Linked DNA regions of Homo sapiens: all the other regions are linked to region 1. The links are contacts of gene promoters, found by promoter capture Hi-C in blood cells and fetal thymus (Javierre and others, 2016). All regions are on one chromosome and are shown on one strand. The core of a region is centred on a gene start or on the middle of the fragment in contact, and the rest is flanking DNA. Distances in the headings are between cores, read along the strand shown. Region 1 holds the start of HOXA11 (homeobox A11). Region 2 overlaps TAX1BP1 (Tax1 binding protein 1). Region 3 overlaps TAX1BP1 (Tax1 binding protein 1). Region 4 overlaps SNX10 (sorting nexin 10). Region 5 holds the start of SNX10 (sorting nexin 10).

Evidence for each region. Contacts are between HindIII fragments. The CHiCAGO score rates a contact against its expected background, and 5 or more counts as called.
Region 2: a fragment that was not itself captured here is called in contact with the fragment with the promoter of HOXA11 in region 1 in 1 of 17 cell types (megakaryocytes); the score reaches 6.1 in megakaryocytes.
Region 3: a fragment that was not itself captured here is called in contact with the fragment with the promoter of HOXA11 in region 1 in 1 of 17 cell types (endothelial precursors); the score reaches 5.3 in endothelial precursors.
Region 4: a fragment that was not itself captured here is called in contact with the fragment with the promoter of HOXA11 in region 1 in 3 of 17 cell types (naive B cells, total B cells and neutrophils); the score reaches 13.2 in naive B cells.
Region 5: a contact is called between the fragment with the promoter of SNX10 here and the fragment with the promoter of HOXA11 in region 1, in 5 of 17 cell types (neutrophils, activated CD4 T cells, M0 macrophages and 2 more). The highest score is 8.9, in neutrophils.

What each region holds. Positions count from the first base shown.
Region 1 is chr7:27,182,543-27,187,031 of GRCh38, reverse strand. It overlaps HOXA11 (homeobox A11), which reads left to right and starts at 1,800. Exons shown (of 2, transcript NM_005523.6): 1 at 1,800-2,596; 2 at 4,004-4,489. The coding sequence starts at 1,888. The coding sequence ends at 4,236. It overlaps HOXA11-AS (HOXA11 antisense RNA), which reads right to left and starts at 1,624. Exons shown (of 2, transcript NR_002795.2): 1 at 769-1,624. RefSeq lists enhancers at 673-1,554, 2,437-3,318, 3,319-4,201. The HindIII fragment of the contact is 8,872 bases long and covers 1-4,489 here.
Region 2 is chr7:27,762,644-27,767,529 of GRCh38, reverse strand. TAX1BP1 (Tax1 binding protein 1) reads right to left here. Exons shown (of 17, transcript NM_006024.7): 4 at 1,509-1,696. Among named protein-coding and RNA genes, the nearest start is that of TAX1BP1-AS1, 24 kb to the right of the region's middle. The HindIII fragment of the contact is 305 bases long and covers 1,902-2,206 here.
Region 3 is chr7:27,742,560-27,746,889 of GRCh38, reverse strand. The region is part of intron 1 of TAX1BP1 (Tax1 binding protein 1); the gene reads right to left. Among named protein-coding and RNA genes, the nearest start is that of TAX1BP1-AS1, 4.0 kb to the right of the region's middle. The HindIII fragment of the contact is 784 bases long and covers 1,540-2,323 here.
Region 4 is chr7:26,370,230-26,375,039 of GRCh38, reverse strand. It overlaps SNX10 (sorting nexin 10), which reads right to left. Exons shown (of 7, transcript NM_013322.3): 6 at 3,007-3,219; 7 at 657-2,549. The coding sequence ends at 2,468. It overlaps SNX10-AS1 (SNX10 antisense RNA 1), which reads left to right. Exons shown (of 2, transcript NR_136272.1): 2 at 2,472-3,021. Among named protein-coding and RNA genes, the nearest start is that of LINC02981, 26 kb to the left of the region's middle. The HindIII fragment of the contact is 1,856 bases long and covers 436-2,291 here.
Region 5 is chr7:26,290,425-26,295,055 of GRCh38, reverse strand. It overlaps SNX10 (sorting nexin 10), which reads right to left and starts at 3,194. Exons shown (of 7, transcript NM_013322.3): 1 at 2,970-3,194. RefSeq lists an enhancer at 1,160-1,209 and silencers at 2,701-2,780, 2,931-3,170. The HindIII fragment of the contact is 4,940 bases long and covers 1-3,365 here.

The sequences.
Region 1 (4,489 bases), core at 551-3,050:
TTCCAGTGCAATACACGATTAGATTTGTTATTGAGTCAGTTACAGTCAGCTCAGCAATAAATAAATAAATCGATGTTGACACTTAAATACCAAAGATCTTAGAGTTTATACTCTAAATCTCCCCAAGATATGTAAATAACTTTGGCTATTTCCTGGAGAGGGAAAAACAAAAGGTTATCTTTTTACATATTTTTTTATTTTCCTTCAGCAACATCCCAGATCCTTCCAAGAAGAGAGTTGTTGGGAGGCCTCAGGTCTGGGCCCTTCTCAGCTCCTGGCTCTGCCTGGCTGCTCTGTGCTCTGTGTCCTCTCCTTTCTTTCGCTTCCTCCAAACATTGCTCCTTCAATCCTGCAGGATGGGGAGCATATTTTGCCTTCTTAATTTATTTTTTTTCCTCTTCTCAAGAAAGCTAGACTCAGAGTATTGCTATGGCCTCTCTCTATCCTTAGCACAAACCTAGCTTTTTAAAGACATCCCTGTTTCCCCAGGTGCAGGGAGTTCGGGAAGCACCTCTCCTTTCTCTGGTATTGTATTCCTCCTGTGGAATGAGCAGTAGGAAAGGCACAGAGCTCTCTGAGTTTTTGCCCTGCACATCCCTTGCTTTCACTCTCACACATTGCAAGGAAGGAGAGTAGGAGAGTAGGTGGGTTACCCCTTTCTCAGCCACCTCTCCTTGGCCCTCAGCCCGTCCTTTCCACCTCCATTCTCCCCACACCCCTGGAGCTCTGTAAGCAGCCTGATGGGCCCCCCACGAAGATGCAGCATACCCAGGAGAAGTCTCCTCGGATGTCAGCGCCTCTAAAGCAGCCCAAGGCTTGCCTCAATTGCATGGTTTCCCGAGTCCTCAGCTCCAGAAGACCAGGCAGATGGGTGGACCGGTGAGCAGCAGGGCAGCCCCTGTGCCTCTGTCTCTGCCGAGTCACTCCGAAGCCCGGCAGGCAGCGAGGAGGAGGGAGTTTCTCCAAGGACAGAAGGTGGGATGAAGAGGTAGGCAGGGAAGATGAGGGGAGAGGTGGATCCCGGGTAAGACGAAGGCCCTTCCGGGCCCTGCGGATCAGTGACAAACCGCGGGGAGAAGCCGTTCTGGCTGTTGGCGGTTTAGGGACGGAAGGCACTAAAGCGCTTCGGAAGTGACCATGAATGAGAGAGTGTAATCAAGTCACCGTGCAAATCGGACAAGCCACCAGGCAGGCACATCCACGGCTTCAAACTCTGGCCCCGAAGGGGTTCCGGCTAGGGTCGGAGGCAGAGGCGCTTCCCAGAGCAAGTCTATGGGAGGGGGACTGCGAAGAAGGGGGTGCAAATGCGAGACTCCAGGAGAACAGACTCCGAGACCACAGGCCACACAGCGACGGACTCCCACCTGGCTATCCCCAGTCCAGGGCATCCCTCACCCACCCGGGGAGCTGCGGGTGGGAGGTGGGGACGAGAGTTGAGCTCTCACCGCCCTCTGCACACTCGAGAACGAGGACCCTGCAATTGAGCACAAGCATGCTGCATGGGGGCGCACCCCAGCCTCTCCGCGCGCGCCGGGAGGCCCCCCAGCCAACATGAGTTACACCGGCGATTACGTGCTTTCGGTGAGAACACCGAGTGACGATCTGTTGCTTCCCCTGAGGTGGCTACAAAGAAAGGAAGCCGGGAGGGAGGGGAGAGGAGGAAAAAAAAAAAAGGAAAGGGGGGGGGAAAAGGCCCGGACTAGCTAGCAGCTTGTCAATTTCAACATCGGGTCACATGACCAGCACCTCCCTGCTAAGGATGGGGATAGATTTCCACGTCAGCTTACGTCTCCAAATTTCTACTTCACGGATCCGCTTCAAAGAGGCAGCTGCAGTGGAGAATCATGTTAAGCTCGGCTACTGCGGAGAGCCCAAGGTAGCCCAATAATGGATTTTGATGAGCGTGGTCCCTGCTCCTCTAACATGTATTTGCCAAGTTGTACTTACTACGTCTCGGGTCCAGATTTCTCCAGCCTCCCTTCTTTTCTGCCCCAGACCCCGTCTTCGCGCCCAATGACATACTCCTACTCCTCCAACCTGCCCCAGGTCCAACCCGTGCGCGAAGTGACCTTCAGAGAGTACGCCATTGAGCCCGCCACTAAATGGCACCCCCGCGGCAATCTGGCCCACTGCTACTCCGCGGAGGAGCTCGTGCACAGAGACTGCCTGCAGGCGCCCAGCGCGGCCGGCGTGCCTGGCGACGTGCTGGCCAAGAGCTCGGCCAACGTCTACCACCACCCCACCCCCGCAGTCTCGTCCAATTTCTATAGCACCGTGGGCAGGAACGGCGTCCTGCCACAGGCTTTCGACCAGTTTTTCGAGACAGCCTACGGCACCCCGGAAAACCTCGCCTCCTCCGACTACCCCGGGGACAAGAGCGCCGAGAAGGGGCCCCCGGCGGCCACGGCGACCTCCGCGGCGGCGGCGGCGGCTGCAACGGGCGCGCCGGCAACTTCAAGTTCGGACAGCGGCGGCGGCGGCGGCTGCCGGGAGACGGCGGCGGCAGCAGAGGAGAAAGAGCGGCGGCGGCGCCCCGAGAGCAGCAGCAGCCCCGAGTCGTCTTCCGGCCACACTGAGGACAAGGCCGGCGGCTCCAGTACGTATAAAGGCAGCGCCCTGCGCTTTATGAAAGGGGAGTTGGAAATCTAGCGCAGCACCGCTGTTAAATTTTTATATGCTGTTTTATAAGCATATAAGGTTTATGAAGGGCCTTTAGGTTTCCCCCAACAAAACTTTGTTATAAAAGGCGGGATCACGTGGCGAGTGCTGAAATTGGCCGTGAAATACCCACCGGCCAAGGCATGCCTGCAAAAAAAAACAACTCCCCTTTTCCCTTTTTTCCCTTCTCAGCTCCCAAGCCCAGCAGCTCGACCCCGCTCGGGGCCAGCTCCAGGCTGGGGAGCCGGAGGTGGGCGCCTGTAAATTCCCCCTGCAAGGGCTTCGGGAGCTTTTGATAGCGAGGTAATCCGGAGATTTTTATAAAAGCCATGTGTTGCGCCGGGACTCCAGTCCCGGCCGGGATTCAAAGGCGTCGCTGTTTAACGACGGCGCTAGGAGCGCGTTTAACAGATAAAGTAGCCCGCTTAGCTCTAGCAATATATTAAAAGAACAAATTAACCCAAAGTTGGCCTTTTTGTCCAAAGGAAGCCATTTTCCTCTGGCGTGGTGGCAATTACGTGCCTCCTTCTGCCCAACTGCATGTTATTCACAATTGTTATTCAATCTGTCAAAAGCGATTTTTTTTTTGTCTTGTGGGTCTTTTTTTTTTTTTTTTTTTTTTTTTTAAAGGGGGAGCAAGTAGAGCCTGCCCGCAGCTTCGGGAAGCCCCCTTTCCCTTCACCCTACCTAAGATAGAGCCGCTGCTCTGCCGTGTGCAGGATGGCCGTGTGGCCGTGGTGCTCAGCGAAGGCCTAGGGTAGGGGGCTTCCGCCGCCACCTCCCCACCTCGGCGGAGCCGGAAGGCTGGCCGGGGAGGCAGAAGCTGGTGGCCAGGACTCAGGCTGACAAAGACCCGGCAGCCGCCCCAGATGTTAAGGACTGCCCAGTCTTGGCCGCAGCCGGGAAAGACTGGGACTGGAGCCGCCTTTACTGCCTTGGGAAGGGGCAGCCCAGGTGCTGGAAGGTGAAATGTCCGCAGGCGGCTGTTTGTTTAGTCTGGCCTGCGAGAGGCAGCCGGCAACCCCCACTTGGCTGCTTTCAAAGAGGCTTAGGCAGCGCAAACTCGCCTGTTGCTGTGCGAAGCTCTCCTTTCTGTTCTGGGGGCAGCGGGAGCAGCTTCCCCGGGGGCCTATTTAGGGAGCTGGCTTTTATCTGTGGCTGAGCCTCCAACTGCGGCCGTTCCAAGCATGCAGTCGGAGCGTTAAAGGCAGGGGCCTGGGCAGACTTTGACGGGGCTTGGGCTGGACCACCAGTCCCCATGGCAGCCCTTCTCCTCAGCTATGGGCTCTGGGGTGGATTGCAGCCCCCACACCTGGCTCACCCCATGCCTTTTCTCCCTCCACAGGTGGCCAACGCACCCGCAAAAAGCGCTGCCCCTATACCAAGTACCAGATCCGAGAGCTGGAACGGGAGTTCTTCTTCAGCGTCTACATTAACAAAGAGAAGCGCCTGCAACTGTCCCGCATGCTCAACCTCACTGATCGTCAAGTCAAAATCTGGTTTCAGAACAGGAGAATGAAGGAAAAAAAAATTAACAGAGACCGTTTACAGTACTACTCAGCAAATCCACTCCTCTAAGACTCCAGCGGCTGGAATTGGGTGGGGGGCTTCATACACATGAGATAATATGCAGATTTTGCCCTTGACAAAGTCAAGCCACATGGTGACTTTTGAAAAGAGGTGTGCAAGAGAGGGATGCATGGAGATAGCCCCACAGGAGGTGGTCTGGGACTCTCTTGATTAAGATCTCAGTGGTTAAGATTCCTAATAATCATTGGATTCTGAGAGCTGTGCATCAGCTAGAATGACAGGTTTGGGACCCCTGGTGGTT
Region 2 (4,886 bases), core at 805-3,304, 580 kb before region 1:
TATAAAAGTTACATTTCTTTAAGATAAGAGAGGAATTTCTGTAAAGGGGAAGGAAAGATATGAAAGAATTCACAATAAAAAATCATTAGTTCCTCCTAACCTAGTTTGACTGTCTAATAAAAGTATTCTATCTGTAACCTCTTGTCTTTTTACTCCAGTCTCAGTTCTTTGAGGTAAATAAAAGTAAAATCAAAGGTATTAAATATTTACATGTTAAAAAAATCTATCCAACTATAAAGAAAAAGCAATAGCTGCAATAGAAGAAATATGAATATAAATTAGCCAAAAATGTATACTGAACCAATTTGAGAAACTATTTTTCTTATTATTATAATAGAGGGCACTATATACAATTAATCACAATAACTCAAATATAACACTGTAGTTTTTTAGGTATAGGATAAAGATATTGAAAAATGTGATCTTAAAATGAGAAAAGAATGTCACTCTATTTTTTCTGTCAATGACTACTAAAAATTAATACACAAGGCATTATTAGACCATCTACATAGTAAATTTATATTAAAGCCATGATCATGACTCCACAATATTCTATTTACAAAAACAGTAAGGAGTAAATAGCTTTTTAAATTTTCTTTTTAAATTATGGTTAATCTAGGCTTATTCATTTCATCAGAAGTACAACAGGAATCATTCTAAAAATGTCCAATCTAAATTAAGAGACTGGGAAGCTCCCCTGACTCACTGCCACACTTTAGAAAGAGAATGCTCATGGTAGTGAAACAAAGTTCACATCCAATTACAGTTAGATTTATTGATTTACACCATTATCCCAAGCAGCTTCATCCCCAAATCGGTAACATTCTACAATGAACTGATTACGCCACCACAAAAAGTTAGGCAAAGGAACATAAGGAAAGCTTTAGACCTAAACTCTCCCAATTGGTACTTACTGCACTATCCACTATGCGCAAAATAAGGATAGGCCCTAGGGAAAGTCTCTGCCACAGTGGAACCAACAGCATAATTGTGGCCAAAAGATTTTTTTAAGCATTTCAAAAAAAGACACTCTAAATTTATTATTTTAGTTAAAAAGCATTCGATTTTTTTTTTTTTTTTTTTTTTTTTTTTTTTTTTTTTTTTTTTTTTGATACGGAGTCTCGCTCTGTCGCCCAGGCTGGAGTGCAGTGGCACGATCTTGGCTCACTGCAAGCTCTGCCTCCCGGGTTCATGCCATTCTCCTGCTTCAGCCTCCCGAGTAGCTGGGACTACAGGTGCCTGCCACCACGCCCGTCTAATTTTTTGTATTCTTAGTAGAGACAGAGTTACACCGTGTTAGCCAGGATGGTCTCGATATCCTGACATCGTGATCTGCCTGCCTCGGCCTCCCAGAGTGCCGGGATTACAGGCGTGAGCCACTGCGCCCAGCCAAAGCATTCGATTTTTGTGGCAACTCTCACATAACCTTAAAATTCTTAAAATGCCAACCAACATGAGCTCTGTTCTTAAAATTATCAATGAATCACTATCTCACTGTGAACACCAACCTCAAGAAGGCCTGCTTTTGTGGTCACCACTAACATGTCAGAATTTCCTTCATCTTCCATAGTAAGCAGCTCTTCAACTGGAGAAGAAGCTCGAAACTGGAAAGGTGTACTTGCTCCACGAATTTCACCCTTATGGGTAACGTAACAGAACTGATAAAATTCTCCATCATCATTTGGAAGGTAATATCCTAAGAGGAAGTTAACAAACAAAATTATTAAACTTCCTATTATAAAATTCATGTTATTTCAATTTAACAATACTTGCCATGTCTCATTCCCCACACTGTTCTTGACAAGAATCTGGGATATGTCCTTCCTCCTTTCGCAAATTATCAAAACTAGATTCTTCCTTCCTACTCAAAGTTAAATTTTTTCTTCTCTTAGGTTTAAGCTTATATTCCCAGAATATCCTTTCCCCTTGTATCTTCACTAGGGCAAAACCCACTCATTTAGGACAGGCAAGTATATACTTTACAATGGGAAAGAGGCTGGAGGAGGAGCAAGGGAAGAACCAATATAAAAGTCTACTGAGGACTGGGAGTGGGGGTGGGAATATGTCATTTAGAGAAATCTTCCCTCCAATTTGACATTCATTACATGTAAATAAGAGATATTAACTAAAGTAATATGCTGCACATGTGAACTATATGAAGGCAGAAAAGATGAGGTCTGCTAGTGCAGTATGGTAAAAATAAGCTTTAGGACCCAGTGCGGTGGCTCATGCCTGTAATCCCAGCACTTTGGAAGGCCAAGGTGGGCAGATTCGCTTGAGCCCACCTGGAGTTAGAGACCAGCCTGGCCAACATGGTGAAACCCTGTCACTACAAAAAATACAAAAATTTGCCAGGTGTGATGGCATGTACCTGCAGTCCCAGCTACTAGGGAGGCTGAAGCGGGAGGATCGCTTGAGCCCAGGAGGTCAAGACTGCAATGAACCATGATGGTGCCACTGCACTCCAGCCTGAGCGACAGAGTGAGACTCCGCCTCAAAAAAAAAAAAAAAAAAAAAAAACAGAGAGGAGAGGCAGACAATCTATAAGATAAGAGAAATTCTTGTGGCGCTTTAAAGCAAAGTAGCAGTCCACAAAAAGGAATTAAGAGAGGGGTGGAGCATGTCAAAAAAAAATACAGGAGCCCACTTGAAAAGCTCCAAATGGCTAAAGCTGAAACAATTTAAGTAACAAAAAAAATATGGTATTAGACTTTATTTCACAGAAGAAATTAATGATTCCATGGAGAAGAAGAAAATTCTTTCTAACGTAATGATCAACTAATAAATATACAAGTAATGAACTTCATTAGGCAAACACCACAATAATCGTAGGCAAGATGCACAGAGGGATACTAAAATTAGTGGCTGAAAATATGAGGAGAAACAAGATATTTCCACAGTCTCAAAGTAGCTCCCTCATAATATTCATTAATTACAAGGGAAAAAAATAATAACTTTATTTACAGTGGAGAAATCCAGAAGACACAATCTTAAACAAGCAATCAAGATTATTATAACCAGTAATAAGATGTATGGACATCACATACTCCCTGATAAAATGTACTGAGAAAGGTACAATACTGTTTCTATGGCATTCTTCCCAAAAATGCATAACTTCAATCTAATCATGAGAAAACATCGAGCAAAACCAAGATGAGAGACAAGCTACCAAAACAAACAACACCACAAAATGCTAACAGTACTTCACAAGAAAGTAAAGGTTATGAAAGATAAGGAGGAAACCAAGGAGACTAAGACAACATGACAATTAAATACAAAGAGGAATTAAAGACTGGATCTAAGAACAGAAAAAGAACAGTAATGGAAACACTGGTGAAATCTGAGTAAGGTTTGTACTTTAGTCAATAGTACTGTACCACTGTTAAACTATTGGTTTCTTAAATAAATGTACCATGGTCATGTAAGATGCTCACATGACACGAAGATGGGCAAAGGGCATACAGAAATTCTGTGTACTACTTTTGCAAGTTTTCTTTACATCTAAAATTACTTCAAAATACAAAGTTTAAATAAATATCATAGACATGTATCTGGCAACATACATTTTTAAAGATTTTAAAAATCCACCCTCCTAATAGCTACTAAAAACTTACTAATTCATACCAACTTCCAAATAGCCACTAGGCTTATTTAAAAGCTTAACTAGAAAACAAATATATAGCATAATTAATCAGCTCTGGCATCAAGACATTAGAAACTGTACAAACTAGGTATTCAAGGTCTGATTCTTTTTTTTTTTTTGAGACAGAGTCTCGCTCTGTCACCCAGGCTGGAGTGCAGTGGCCTGATCTCAGCTTACTGCAACCTCCACCTCCCTGCTTCAAGCAATTCCCCTGCGTCAGCCTCCCGAGTAGCTGGAATTACAGGCACACGCCATCACGCCCAGCGAATTCTTTTGTATTTTAGTGGAGACGGGGTTTCACCATGTTGGCAAGACTGGTCTTGAATTCCTATCCTCAGGTAATCCACCCGCCCCGGCCTCCCAAAGTGCTGGGATTACAGGTGTGAGCCACCGTGCCCGGCCTCAAGGTCTGATTCTTTAAAAAACAAAAACTTCACTAAAATAAACTGCTAAAAAATATGGTTCAAAACCATTTGAGATAGACATAATTATTCAGAGCTGCAATTTAAAGCTGCCTGGAAAAACTTGTCAGATGGATACTGAAAATAAAATGGGAAAAAGTGAAAACTAAATTTTCGAGTCAAATTTTACAGACTGTGCCTTTAGTATTCAACAAGATTATAATAAATAAATAAGGGTTCATTTAGGAAAACAATCACGTTTAGGTATTGTTAGATGTTTTGGGTTTTGCATTTCAGGATTCTCATTACTCATCCACAAAATGAGCAAAGTGATTTGCATTATGCTTGAAAGCCCTTCTATAACTCTAATATTCAATGACTAAGCTTTCCCTGACTTCCTTATATAACAAAAAAGTTCTAGGCACGGAGATGCTTTTATTTCTGAATTTCAAAATTCAAAATAAAAATGAACTGTTGAATTTTCAGAAACTTGTAAAACATATTGCATTTAGGCTTAGTGCCCATGAATTTTTGAGACAGGTTCTCACTCTGTCGCCAAGTCTGGAGTGAAGTGGTACAATCTCGGCTCACCGCAACCCCAGCCTCCTGGGCTCAAGTGATCCTCCCCACCTCAGCCTCTCAAGTAGCTGGGACTTTAGGTGTACACCACCATGCCTGGCTAATTTTGGGGGTATTTTTTGTAGAGATGAAGTTTTGCCAAATTGCCCAGGCTGGTCTCAAATTCCTGGGCTCATGCAATCCATCCTCCTTGGCCTCACAAAATGTTAACATTAGAAGTGTGAGCCACCATGTCTGGCCCAAAAATGTTTTTAAAGTATTAA
Region 3 (4,330 bases), core at 682-3,181, 560 kb before region 1:
CTTTCTTCTTGTGTCCCCTCTGCTTCTGTTATGGCCAAAGTCCTGCTTTACTGAATATAATGGATATCCCAAAAAGAGACTGTCAATCATGAACCTGGAAACCACTGTAGAGTATCAGGCTAGTTGTCAGCCTCTCCCTACCTGAGGTTTGCAAGCATTCCAAGATAAAGAGTATATTCAGTAGCAATCCCCCTTTACCTCTGCACTAATAAAGGGACTTTGCTACCAGCAACCATATTTCATGGAAAGACTTAACTATGAATACTCTCTACCTGGTAACCTAAAGCCATCAGAAAAATGAACAGGTAGCATTTACAAACACTGGAGAACTCTGCCTAAAATAACTGAAGAGTTTTATTATTTTGTTTCTTTGAGTTGTCTGAGCTAATTTGGGCTCCCAGGGAGGTCATGATACTAATGAAGTCATTAATGATTATCTCAAGTCACTGGCTTCACAAAGGAAAAAAAAAAAAACACCAATTCCAGTTCTTTAAAAAAAAAAGAAAAAAAAAAAACTCACTACTGGTTACAAGACACCAACAAAAGAAACTATAGCTAAATCAACAGAACCAACATCTATTAGATACAACTACCAAAACTGAATTAAGAGAATAATATTTTTCTATGAAGTGAGTGAATAGTCACGCTTCCTTTAAGAAAGATATTCAGTAAGAAGGAAATAAACTAGCTTAGAATAAACGTCCCATGTTTTTAATCAAAAGCTGATTAAGGATAATACTTTTTTCTTAAAATTTAACATATCATTTCCTAAAATAAATTAAACCAACAAAGCTGTAACTATTTTTTTTATAAAACAAGGCAAAAGTGTTTCAACTTCTGTTAACCTCAATTATAACAGTTTTTTAAAAACCCACAATCCAACCTTATACTTTTAGTTCACTGAAGTTTTTGAGGTACAAAATAGCACATAGGTATACATATATGTATTTGTATATGTTTACAAATGCATCAAAAGGAACTCAAGAAGTATACACTATAGAGTTAATAGTCTTATAAGGGATGTGTGTAAAAAGAAGACTTAAGGACCTTAAATTTTACATCAATTTATTGTTTGAATTTTTACAAGTATATATAAATGTATTATTTCTATTGTTTTAAATAGCCCTATTAACAAGAAATTCCATTTTTAAACCCTCCCCTGAATTTCACATTTTCTAATAGAAAACACTAGTATTTCACTTTAAAATATAGTATTCACAATGGTTACAAGTCTGAAAAGTAAAATAATTTGTGATTATCCTATTAATGGCCTTCATTAATCTCTCTCCAACACTCCAATCTTTTTAAAATTTCATTGCTATAATTATAGAAATATTTTACAAAAGTCATTCCAGTACCTTGTCATTTTTTACTCTTATTAAATTACAATATAGCTACTAATCATTTAAAAAGTTTACATGGATGAATGCAATCAAATATAATTATGTCATTATCAACCCATTTTAAATAATAAAATTTCTAATTCCCACATAGTTCCTCTGGTTCACTCCTCCTACAGATAACAGACTTAGGCAAGCTTACAAAAATGTTGGAATTCACTGAGAATGTCAAGGTCGCACGGGAGTGGAGAAATAATATGCAAAGTCACTGCATCACCTTGTGGTAATGCCTGGGAAGTGTAGCTTCACTAACATCCTGAGAAAAAGTACAAACCTCCTCTCAGTTGGAGAGAAGTACACTCCCTACACAAAAAGGAAAGTAGAAGCAAGCAGCTTTACCATGTCAAATTCTGATTCCCCTTCTCTAAAGTGCACCTCTACAAACAGGAGTATAGTAAGTAGGCAAGCCAAGGATAAGTATGAAACGTCCAGTCAACAATTAAGGGGCCAGACACATTTGGCTGGGAAACAAAATCAGAAATGCTTATACATGCTGGCTACAGTGCCCTCTTCCAGGTTTCCTACTACACTTCCCCAAGTTCCAATGCCTCTAGAATTTCTTTATGTGTGTTATGCTGTAAACTGTATATTATAAAGTCTTTGGTCTAAATTCCAATTTTATTATTTTGCGAATGCATTAATGTCTATAAAAAAGATAAATAATATATAGTGGGCACTCAGTTATGTATACAGCTAAAATAAACATGGGGTGGGGGCAGGGAAGCATTTCAATGTTATCTTTACTTACTCCTCTTGTAACTTTTTCAAGCCCAAAGCAGATTTGACTTTTGTGGTAGTATTTTTCCAGTGGTTCCCAATACTTGTTTTACTTTAGCCCAAAAATGTAAGCCTTAGTGAACTTACTGAAAAATAGACCATAGTAAGAACTTCTGTACATTAAACATATGAAGCCAAATTAAGCTTTTTAATTTAGATAAATACTAAATATAATTTGCCAGTCCTAACAATTAGAATTCAAAAATAAGGTAATTTTGTTATGTGTGATAATATAATTATGGTGATTCTGTGTTTTTCTAGTCTTTATCATTTAAAGATACTAAACTAGGCCGGGTGCGGTGGCTCACGCCTGTAATCCCAGCACTTTGGGAGGCCGAGGCGGGCGGATCACGAGTTCAGGAGATCGAGACCATCCTGGCTAACACGGTGAAAACCCATCTCTACTAAAAATACAAAAAATTAGCCGGGCGAGGTGGCAGGCGCCTGTAGTCCCAGCTACTCGGGAGGCTGAGGCAGGAGAATGGCGTGAACCCTGGGGGGCGGAGCCTGCAGTGAGCTGAGATCACGCCATTGCACTCCAGCCTGGGTGACAGCGAGACTCCGTCTCAAAAATAAAAAATAAATAAAAATAAAAAATAAAGATACTAGGCCGGGCGCGGTGGCTCACGCCTGTAATCCCAGCACTTTGGGAGGCCGAGGCGGGTGGATCATGAGGTCAGGAGATCGAGACCATCCTGGCTAACAAGGTGAAACCCCGTCTCTACTAAAAATACAAAAAATTAGCCGGGCGCGGTGGCGGGCGCCTGTAGTCCCAGCTACTCGGGAGGCTGAGGCAGGAGAATGGCGTGAACCCGGGAAGCGGAGCTTGCAGTGAGCCGAGATTGCGCCACTGCAGTCCGCAGTCCGACCTGGGCGACAGAGCGAGACTCCGTCTCAAAAAAAAAAAAAAAAAAAAAAAAAAAAAAAAAAAAAAAAAAAAAAAAATAAAGATACTAAACTAACTGTAAGTGAAATGTCTTGATGTCTAAGATTTGCTTTAAAAACTCCAGGGGAAAAAATTAATGTTAGAGGGGGTAATAAAACAAGATTAGTAAAGTGTCGGTTCATTTTACTGTTCATTCTCCTTTGTGTATGTTTGAAAATTTCTGTAATAGTAAAACCAAAGCAAATAAAGAAATGAAACAGATTAGTAACACTCCACATATGACCCACTGTAGCAGAAACACTGCATTTTAGAATATGAACGCTTTGTACCCTTAGAAGTGTTGTAATTCAGGTAATGGTTGATAGAGTTACTGAAAGTTTTTCACATCTTCAGCTAAAAAACCTTTAGAATTATCTCCAAACTTTAATCCGATAGGACACACAAACATATGAAAGGAAAAAATGTCCAGCATTCAAATAGTTTCCAATTATTCACACTGTGGCTCAAAAAAAGAAAGACTAACAACTCTCAACAGACCTCTGCTCCCAAAAAATGTAATCAGCAATTTTTCTAGGAGGCAACAGCAAAAGCCCCAGTCTATTAATTTGCACCCTTGCAGACATCCCTATTTCCAGAATCCTTTACACCTGAGTGCCAAGACATTCCGCCCAGGTATCACCCGCACCACTTTTATTTACTTTTTAGATTTTTATAAGTTGGTTTCTAAAATGCTATGATATTGGCCCACACATATTAGGGTAGAGGACATTTTTATCTTCTTCTAAAGGTTTATTTGGGACAAAATAAGCTTTAAAAAGACAGAAATGCATAAAGCCCAGATTTAACATATCCATTCCAAAAGAATACAACAAAGTCCCCAAAAGAAGTATACAAGGAGCATCATTAGGATCTTTCATGATTATTTTAACATTATTAAAAAGGTTGAAACTTTGAATTCCAAAATTTTACTTTTGTTATGGAAAAGGTATTTGCTGGTTAATTCTACAAACATGGCTGCAGTGAGAACTATAAACAGCGGTCTACAATTTAAGAACGTGATGGGCTGGGTGCGGTGGCTCACACCTGTAATCCCAGCACTTTGGAAGGCCGAGGCAGGCGGATCAAGAGGTCAGGAGTTCGACACTAGCCTGACCAACATGGAGAAACCTCGTCTCTACTAAAAATACAAAAATTTGCCGGGTATGTGTGGGGAAAAGCAAGAGAGATCAGACTGTTACTGTGTCTGTGTAGAAAGAAGTAGACATAG
Region 4 (4,810 bases), core at 114-2,613, 810 kb after region 1:
TTCAATAAAATGTGGACTAGGTTTGAAAAACTGGCAAGATACTTCATATCTTAAGGAATAGTATCTGCTTAAAAATAAATACTTGTTTGTCCCTAGTAATTTTTAAAACTTGAAATTTTAACTAGAATTAAGTAACTTTCTTCTAAGTGAGACTTTATAAGAAGCCGAAGTAACAGGTTGTTGACGTTCAGTGCTGTTGACACCTTTGGGTTATATATAAATCTAGTTCTACAACAAAACACGTAAGTTGGCTTTATAGGTGAATAGTTTACCCTTTAAGAATCAGCCAGGGAAAATGCAGTTTTGCTGTATTGTAATCATAAAGAATCCAGGATTAGAATTCTTTACATTTAAGTCACATTAAAAATAGTGTTAAATAAACATCTATTCAAGTTAGCTACATCAGTAATTATTTTCTTTTTCCTAAAGAAAGCTTTATAAAAAATATGCCAGAGAAAAATAAGAGACAAAGCAAGAAAACCACTGGGAACTGAAGTTCATCTAAATATCTCAGCTGCAAGAAATCAGTTTTAAGAAGCCAGTGTGTGGACATTGAAACAACTAAACCAAGGCTAAAAGCCTCAAATATGTACAACTATAGCTAATATTAAACCATGTTTTACCAAATTTCCTCATAAAAAATAAAAAACACTGAGTTTGGGTCTAAGGCAGAATATATTCTCTTGTATAAAATAAGTGATCCGGCAAAGTTGATTTTTTTTCACGTTTAATGTAAAAATGATCTCGTGACATTTACATACTAAGTATTAGGCATTACATAATATTAATTTTGATGGCTATGTTACATCATCTAAAAATAATATGACAATTGGTGGCATAGTATGTGTTTTTCAAAACTGCTGTAAAACAGAAATAGTGTGAACTCAAATACATATTGCTGAAGGGATGAGGATCGCTCTTAAATGCCTGGATGGCATGAACTTTACATATTAGCATGGTAAGAAATTACTAAATCTTTTCTTTTCCTGTATTAAAATAATGAGGATCTAAGACACATTAAATCAAAATATTTACAAAAATTTAATAATGTTTTAGACCAAAGAAAAAAAGGACAAATTAAAGAAATCATTCTTATTCTAAATTTAATTTTTTTAATGTTAGTTCTCAGTTTTCTTAGCTTTTTTTTCTGTTGGTTCTTTGAAACAAGCATTGTAAAGACTTTTTAATAATACAATAGCTTTTAAACTCTTAGTGAAAATGAAAAGGTTGCTTTTTGTAGTAGCCTCTGCCACTCTTCAATTAGGCTGGGTAACAAAGCAACAAGTTATCCTAGTTATCTGAAAATATCTTCCTGTTAGTTTCACAGAAATATTTTGTACCATTCAACATGGATGAAACTTGGGTAATTATCTCAAGAAAATGTTGCCTCATCTGAAATCTGAACTTCAAAATAGTTTATCTAAGATATCTTTGGGACACTAAAAAAAAAGACATTTTATGAAAATTATACCAATCTTCAAGTAGATGCTTTAAAAGGGGCTTTTTAAAAATGAATAATTATTTCTGAAATTAGCAAGTCGACATCCTTTTCTAAATTATGGGAATATTTATTGGTAAAATTAAATTTATTAATCTTTATAAAATCCTTCCTCTGATTTAAGTAATAAGTAACCACCACTGATACTGAAAGTTATCTAGTGATAAGAAATTGCACATTTAGTCAAAAAATAAATCATTAACCTGATTATACAATGATAATGAAAACAAATTATTTGTCTCCAGAAACCATTTGTTGAAGCTGATTTTGGATAATGAAAATGTATTTCTGAATCTATATATTACAGTTATAAGTAATATTACTAGCACTATCTATGTTTTTTCTAAGATGTAAACATTATTTTAATATGTCTCTATTCATAAGATACATTTCCATCTAAGCGTGAAACAGAATACTGGAAAGGTTAAATACTCTTAAAATATTTCAGTCTAACACCCAAAAGCATAGTGTTTTGCCAGTGCAGGGGAGGTATCCACAAAATATCAGGCACATATCTGAGAGAGGCAGTCTGGTCTACACTGTTACTCTTCATAGGGTTTAACAACATATACACCGTGTTTATGGTAACACTGCCCCACTGATACAAGAAGGAATGCTCTATCTTGATTTTAAATGCTACTTAGTTACCTATCTTTTTAAATTCAATAAAACCAACTCGGTTTTTTAAAACATGTAAGTCATTTCATTGGAGGGCAAGATCTTGTTTACCAATAATGTCTGCCTGTAAAGGATAGTATTGTATTCACAGGATTTTTAGCTTTACACAGAAGCTTACCTAAAATAAGACAACATAAAAATACCACTAATAAACAACCCAACATCTTTAAGAATTTAAATACCTAACATCATGACAGTGAGCTTTAGGTAAGAATGTATTATTATGAAGCTTTCTTCTCTATGACTGGACATAATTTGCTATTCCTAAGATAGTAACATTAGAATTATTTTTCAGGATTCCTGCGGAGCTGTATTTACTTTACATCCATGTGAACTGCTGTCATCACTACTGTGTCCAAGCCCAGAGGATGAACTGGAAAAGAAGAGAGGGGGAAAATAATAAAAAGAGGAAATTGGTTTTCACAACACACTCAAAGCCTGAGTAACAGAGGAGAACTTTAATTATCTCCAGTCACAAAGAGAGACAGGAAATTTGGACTTTTAATTAGCCATTTGGAGTGCAGTTGGGTATTTTTTTAGCTAGATAATTTAAACGCGAATAATTCAAGTCTGACTAAATGAAAGTCACATAATCAGAATGCAAATAATTGAATTTCTACTGCATTCATTAATTCAGTGTGGAGGTGTGTGTGAAGACTACTATGATGAGCTGTCACAGCTCAATAAAATCTCAGTCAATTAATTTTTTCATTATCTTAGTATTATATCAACAAAAAAGTGAAGTGTGTATATATATCTATACACGTGCATATGTGCATACTATGTATTATATAAATACATATACATTAAATCAAAATGCAAGGAAATACCTTTCTGAATCATAATCTATATCATTTTCTTTTTTTCCTTCTTCATCTTCTTCAGGGAAACGTCTATTCATTAAGGCAAACTTGTGAATTGCTTCTTCCACAGAGTACTTAGTCTGCCCAGAAACACACGCCTCAATGTCTTCTGAATTCAGATGGCTCTGTAAGAAGAGGTGAAGGCTGCTATCTGAAAGCAAAAGTGCATTCTGTAGGACTCTATATTAAAAAAAAAAGGAAAAATAATTGGTGAACAGGATGGTCAGTGATAGGGTAGAAGAAAGAAAAACATTAGAAAAGTACCACTGAAGGTAATTTCTCTACTGTGGTAAACTTTGTATCAATTATGGGCTCTGCCCATTAAGGGGAGGAAAGCATATGTTAACTTTTATTCAATTATTTGGAAATTTAGGTGGGTAAAAACATGAAGCTAATAGTTAAGAACATCTGTTAAAAGAATAACTTCAAGGACATTTCTTCAATTTACCCATCTCTTATTACCATGTGGATTAATTATGGAAATATTTTGCTTATATAGTCATAGAAAGTTATTCTACTTTAAAAAATTTACTGCCAACAGCATGTCAATTCAGTGATCTTTATGGGATAGGCTGTCATGAAACATCAAAACTTTCAACTACTATTAAAAATTATATGAAGAAAATACAATTCTCAGCATATTTTACATTTTAAAACTTTACAGTTATATACTTAAGGGCATGTTTACGACAGCTCATGAGAGAGATGGCTTTTTTTAATACTTAAGGTTAACTGTAAATTTCTCCAAAATCTTTAGGAGCACTGAATCTCTGTGTTGTCAAAATGAGCAACCAAATAAAATTGATCCCAGCCAACTTTACCATATATATAATTAAAATATGATAATTTTGTGATGAATACATACTGCTCTTCCCACATTTAAGATCAAAGTTTACAAAGACAGAACAGATTTCAACCAGGGCATCAGAACTACATGGAAGATTAAAAACTATCCTGTAGCAAAATCTACAGATGCTCAAATTCATATTAGTGAATGTGTTTTCTCTGAAATGCACATCTTAGAATATGAAATCAAATCAAAGTATACCTTTATATTTAAATAAAAACTGGTTTATCTTTTAGCAAAGATGTTGACATATGATCATTTAGTCTCTACTGATAGTTCAATAATTATGTAAGAGGAGACACTAAGACCAGATACAGGGGACAAAACTAACACACTAAAACCCAAGTAGAATTTTGTCCAACATAAGATTTTTCCGATATAACGATCTGTGAAAAATAGATCATGTATTTCAGACCAAATGAACCTTACCTTATATTCTGCTTGTTTAAACAAGTAATAAGGAAAGTAAATCTCTTTTGGCCATTAATATCAATTTAGTGAAAATCCAAGGTCATTATAATACCAAATCCTTTTCTACAAAATAAAACAATTATTTCTTAACAAAGGCAAAAATGCCTAAAAATGCACAGTATTAAAACCAAAATCTAGCTGTCCCCTTTGCTTCAGCAGGTTTACAGTTTGAGAAAATATTCTTTACTGGTCTATTAGAAGGAAAAGTAAAACCTTTGTGCTTTTTAAAAGGCAAAACCTCAAGCAAAGCAGCTAAATCCTTCTTTTTCCCTCTGTGTCCTCCGCCCTGGGTCCTCCCAAAAGATGACCATGTCACATGATAATGATTAATTTACCAAGTACAAGTAGCTAAGTAGTAAATCCCTCTTACTACTCTTTGAGATTTATTTTCTACATTTACAAATATTCACCATTCTTGTTTTTAAATACTTCAGATTAAGAGAAGAGTTATAG
Region 5 (4,631 bases), core at 1,945-4,444, 890 kb after region 1:
GTAGAACTAAAAGCATCTCTTCTGCAGAAACTGGGAGCAAGGAGTAGTTACTTAGGGAAAAATAAATGTAAGTATCAATAGGAGTTGCCCTTGACTGAAGCCTGGCTAAGCCCTTTACATTCGCAGGTGGGTGGCTGAGAGTTACTACTGATTCCAGACCCAGGCTCCTAGTTCAAATTTTGGCTCTCGCATTACTAGTTGTTTGACCTTGGGCTTTGTGCCTCAGTTTCCACATCTGTAAAAAGAAAGAAGAAGGGGAGAAAAACAATACCTATCTCAAGGGTTGTTAACGTACTTAGGACACTTGTAACAGGGCCTACCACACAGTAAGCCCTAGATAACTATTAGCTTATAACAGAAATCTGACACACATTTGTTGGGTAGTTAAAACTGTAAGCTGAGTTTAGAGAAATCATAAATACTCTGATGGCTTAGTTTCCCCAGAGGTAAACTGAAGACAGTAACAGAATCTGCTTCATAAGTCTGTTGTGATGCTTAATGAGACTGCCACATAAAAACTCTTTCACAATGCCTGGCCCATAATTAAGTGCTCGATAATGTCACGATGCCTGGAATATAGTAAGCACTCGATAAATGTCAGCTGTTGTATTAACAGTTCTGGGAAGCAAAGATTACCATCACCCTTTTTTATTTCTGAATAACAGGCAACTCAGAGAGTGTTAAGTGCCCCGCCAACAAAACTATACTTAGAAAATTATTATACCAAGATTTCAACTCAGATGGGTCTGGAATCACAAGTTCTAACCACTACACTATATACCTTCCTCTTTGAACAGGGCTTAGAGAACAGAAGAGCTAATTCATACCTACCAGATTACTAAGAAAAAGATGTTTGGAGATAACAATGCTAAATTTGGGGGATTCCCCACAGAGTCAACCATGAGCTTGGCCAAAAGCCCTTCTCCGCCATGCTAGGAAATGAAAATCTGCATAGACTGGCCCCTGTTCTCAACCAGTTGTCTGCCTTTCACCAAGTGGTTGTGAAACCACAGCCCTGTCACTAAAAACGGAAAAAAGAAGTTATTTTCCCCAGTAACTTAACGAGCAAAATGAAGCCTTAAAATGAAAGTAGTGATCCTAGGGCTGAGAAAAGATATCCACTGCTCCAAAGCCCAGCAGAATTGCTGTAGAACACCAACGTTACTCTTTGATTAACATACTTTTATTTTTTTTAATGAACGTGCTTATTTCTATTACTTTAGGTTACCTAACTCAGGGGTCCTTCCCATTAGTAAAATAAGAGGAAGTGTGTACCAGCCTGGAGGGGAGACTCCCTGGTGGGGCACAGTGTCAGCCTGAGCAAGTCCCACTGTCAACACTGATGTCCTCCCCAGTTAAATGGTAATCAAAAGTGAGAATGAAATGGACTGGTAGAAGAAACAGGACGACCAGTTGAGTCCATGCTAATCACTGATATTTCACATCTTCACACAGTTTCTTCTAAATGTATTTTATTTTTGTATTTTTATTAAAAACTGCCCTATCAGTCAATCTCAAGTCTACCCTTCCTTTAAAAAATAGTAATAAAAGGCCGAGCGCAGTGGCTCACCCCTGTAATCCTAGCACTTTGGGAGGCCGAGGCAGGTGGATTGCTTGAGCTCAGGACTTCCAGACCTGCCTGGGGCAACATGGCAAAACCCTGTCTCTACAAAAAAAATACCGAAGTTAGCCAGGGGTGTGGTGGCCCGCACCTGTGGTCTCAGCTACTAGGGAGGCTGAGGTGGGAGGATCACTGAAGCCTGGGAGGTGGAGTTTGCAGTGAGCCAAGATCGCACCACTGCAATCCAGCCTGGGTGACAGAATAATACCTTGTCTCAAAAGAAAAAGAAAAAAGTAAATAATATTAAGAATAATGAAGGTCCAGCTATGTACCTACCTTAGGAATAGGCATCACTGGAAGTGATGGCAGAGGCAAGGCAGGAGTCCCTGACCTCACCTCCATTCTCTCACTGAGGAGCCCCTGCAGAAGCTGGTCAACTATCCAAGCAGTCCCTGCTTCTTCCTGGCGAAGGCCTCAGCCTCCAGCCCAGCCCCCTCCTGGGAGAGGAGGGGGAGCTTATGCAATCCAAACCCAGTTCCCAGGCCCCAGAGGTGGACATAACTCCGGGGTGGAAGTCAGAAGCCTGCCAGGTTGTAGGCCTGGTTCTGCTCCCATCTGGCTGAATGATCCTGGTCCCAACACTCAGCGTCCCTCGGCCTTAGCCTCCCTGTCTGTAAAATGAAAGGTTTGATGGAGATCATGTGCAAGCCTCCTCCCCGTTCTAATTTTCTGATACCATCATTTTTAACGTGTCTTGTAGAGATAGAAGCCCTTCCTTTCAGCAGGACATGTTGCTCCCCATTCCGTGACGATCCCCCTCAATAATCCGTGTAATTTGAGAAAAGTATGATGCATCGGAACTGAAAAACAGGCTGTTGCTTTCCTGGTCACCAAATCTGATAATCAGTCAATTATATGGATTTTCCCCTGGGCCTTCTCCCTCAATCCCACAATCCCACGAATAAACCTGCCTACCCCTCCCAATTCCTCAACTCAAGGCTACCCGTTAATGAATGAATAAAAAAATAAATAAATAAATTTTAAAAACCACCTCCCCACCCCCTTCTACCCGGCCTGGTGTAAGGTGCCACAGCACTTCTTCCGTAATCTAGAATCCACCTCTGCCCCACCCTCTCCCCGGGGTGTCTTTTTAGCCAAGAATCCCTGGATCGACGCGCTCCATCTCCCCGCTCTACCGCGCTGATCATTTCTCCCTGCCCGGCACACCTCGGCTGAAAAGGAGGCGGCTCCTCTGCTCCAAGCCCAAGGGACCCAAACCTCTTTCCAGCCCGCAAGGGTGCGGGCACCTGGGAACAGCGGGAAGGGCCCGCGCCTCTGGAAAGAAGGGCCGCCGTCCCCACCTGGGCGGTGCAGGGGAGGCCCCCTCAGCGGGTCTCTTGTCACTTACGGGCGGCTCCTCCGGGCAGAACAGAGCAGGGCCGGGCCGAGCCGGGCTTGCGGGCCGCGGAGTTTGCTGACTCAAAGGCGCGCGGCGGCAGCGGCGGCGGCGAGCGCCCAGGAGCGCACACGAGCGCAGCCCCGCGCTCCCCGCGCTCCCCGCGCTCCCCGCGCACGTAGCGGCCCCGCGCCCGCGCTCAGCGCCAGCCGTCCGCCTGTGGGCGCCGCGCCTAGTGCTTCCGCCGCCTCCGCGCAGCCCAGCCCAGGTGCGCCCCCACCCTGCAGAGCTAGCCTCCTGCTTCCTGAAATTGAGTTAGGGAGGAAATGCCCCCATTAGTCCGGACGTTGAGGCTGGAGGTGCTCCAGCGGCACCCTTCGGAATTCGCCACCTGAGTCACCTTAAGCTTCCTAACCCTGACCCCACAGTTATGGGGAGGATTGCCGATGGGGAGGAGGACGGATAAATAACGTGATAAACAAGAATGGCAGAATGTTCATAGCATCTAGGTGGTGGGCTATGGTGTTTATATAAAATTATTTCAGTTTTTGTCTATGTTTGAAATGTCTCAATAAAACATTTGGGGGGAAAGCTAATGAGATCTGCCAAGGGACCTGACTGAGGAAAGCATTTCCCAAATGGCACCTGAGGCTGGGTCCCCACACCTGTTTGCATGGGAAACCACAATCATCACTTAAACTGCTAATAAGTGACTGAATGACACAGAATAATAAGCATAGCCTAATATTTCATTTTTCAAGCATGAATTTTCCCATTAGATACAGCTTGTCGCTGATCATCCTCCAGGGACCATTCCAGGCCCACCTGAAAACGCATCTGTTCACCACACCTACATTAACTCCCTAACAAAACGTATAAATATACAATGTTGTGTCTTAACATCTTGGATCTTGAAGTTGTATTGCTGAACCCTCAATCACTGGTATTTAATTTCCTAAAATTGCACCCAAGTCATGACACACAAGTGAATGCAACCATGATCACTTTTGAAAATCAAATTAAGCTGGTGTGGTGGCTCACGCTTGTAATCCCAGCACTCTGGGAGGCCGAGGCGGGTGGATTACAAGGTCAGGAGATGGAGACCATCCTGGCTGACATGGTGAAATGCCGTCTCTACTAAAAATACAAAAACTTAGCTGGGCGTGGTGGCGCGCGCCTGTAATCCCAGCTACTCGGGAGGCTGAGGCAGGAGAATAGCTTGAACCCGGGAGGCAGAGGTTGCAGTGAGCCGAGATCATGCCATTGCACTCCAGCCTGGGCGACAGAGCAAGATTCTGTCTCAAAAAAAAAAGAAAGAAAATCAAATTAAAGTGTATTTTTTATATTCTTGTCCCTATGCTCCGCAAAGAAAAACATTGAGTAGAAAACAAAATGCAGCATGTATCTAAGATCCTAAGAGATTCTGTAAAATTAAAATCTTTCTGAACTTATTGTCAAGAGCATGACTTTACAGCTGTAGACAAAGCAGCAACAAACCCTTGGAGAGTCTACTGAAAGTCATTTGAATATCTGTTAGAATTTTGACCCTATTAAGACTGGTAACTTGGGCCGGGCGCGGTGGCTCACGCCTGTAATCCCAGCACTTTGGGAGGCCGAGGCGGGCGGATCACGAGGTCAGGAGATCGAGACCATCCCGGCTAAAACGGTGAAACC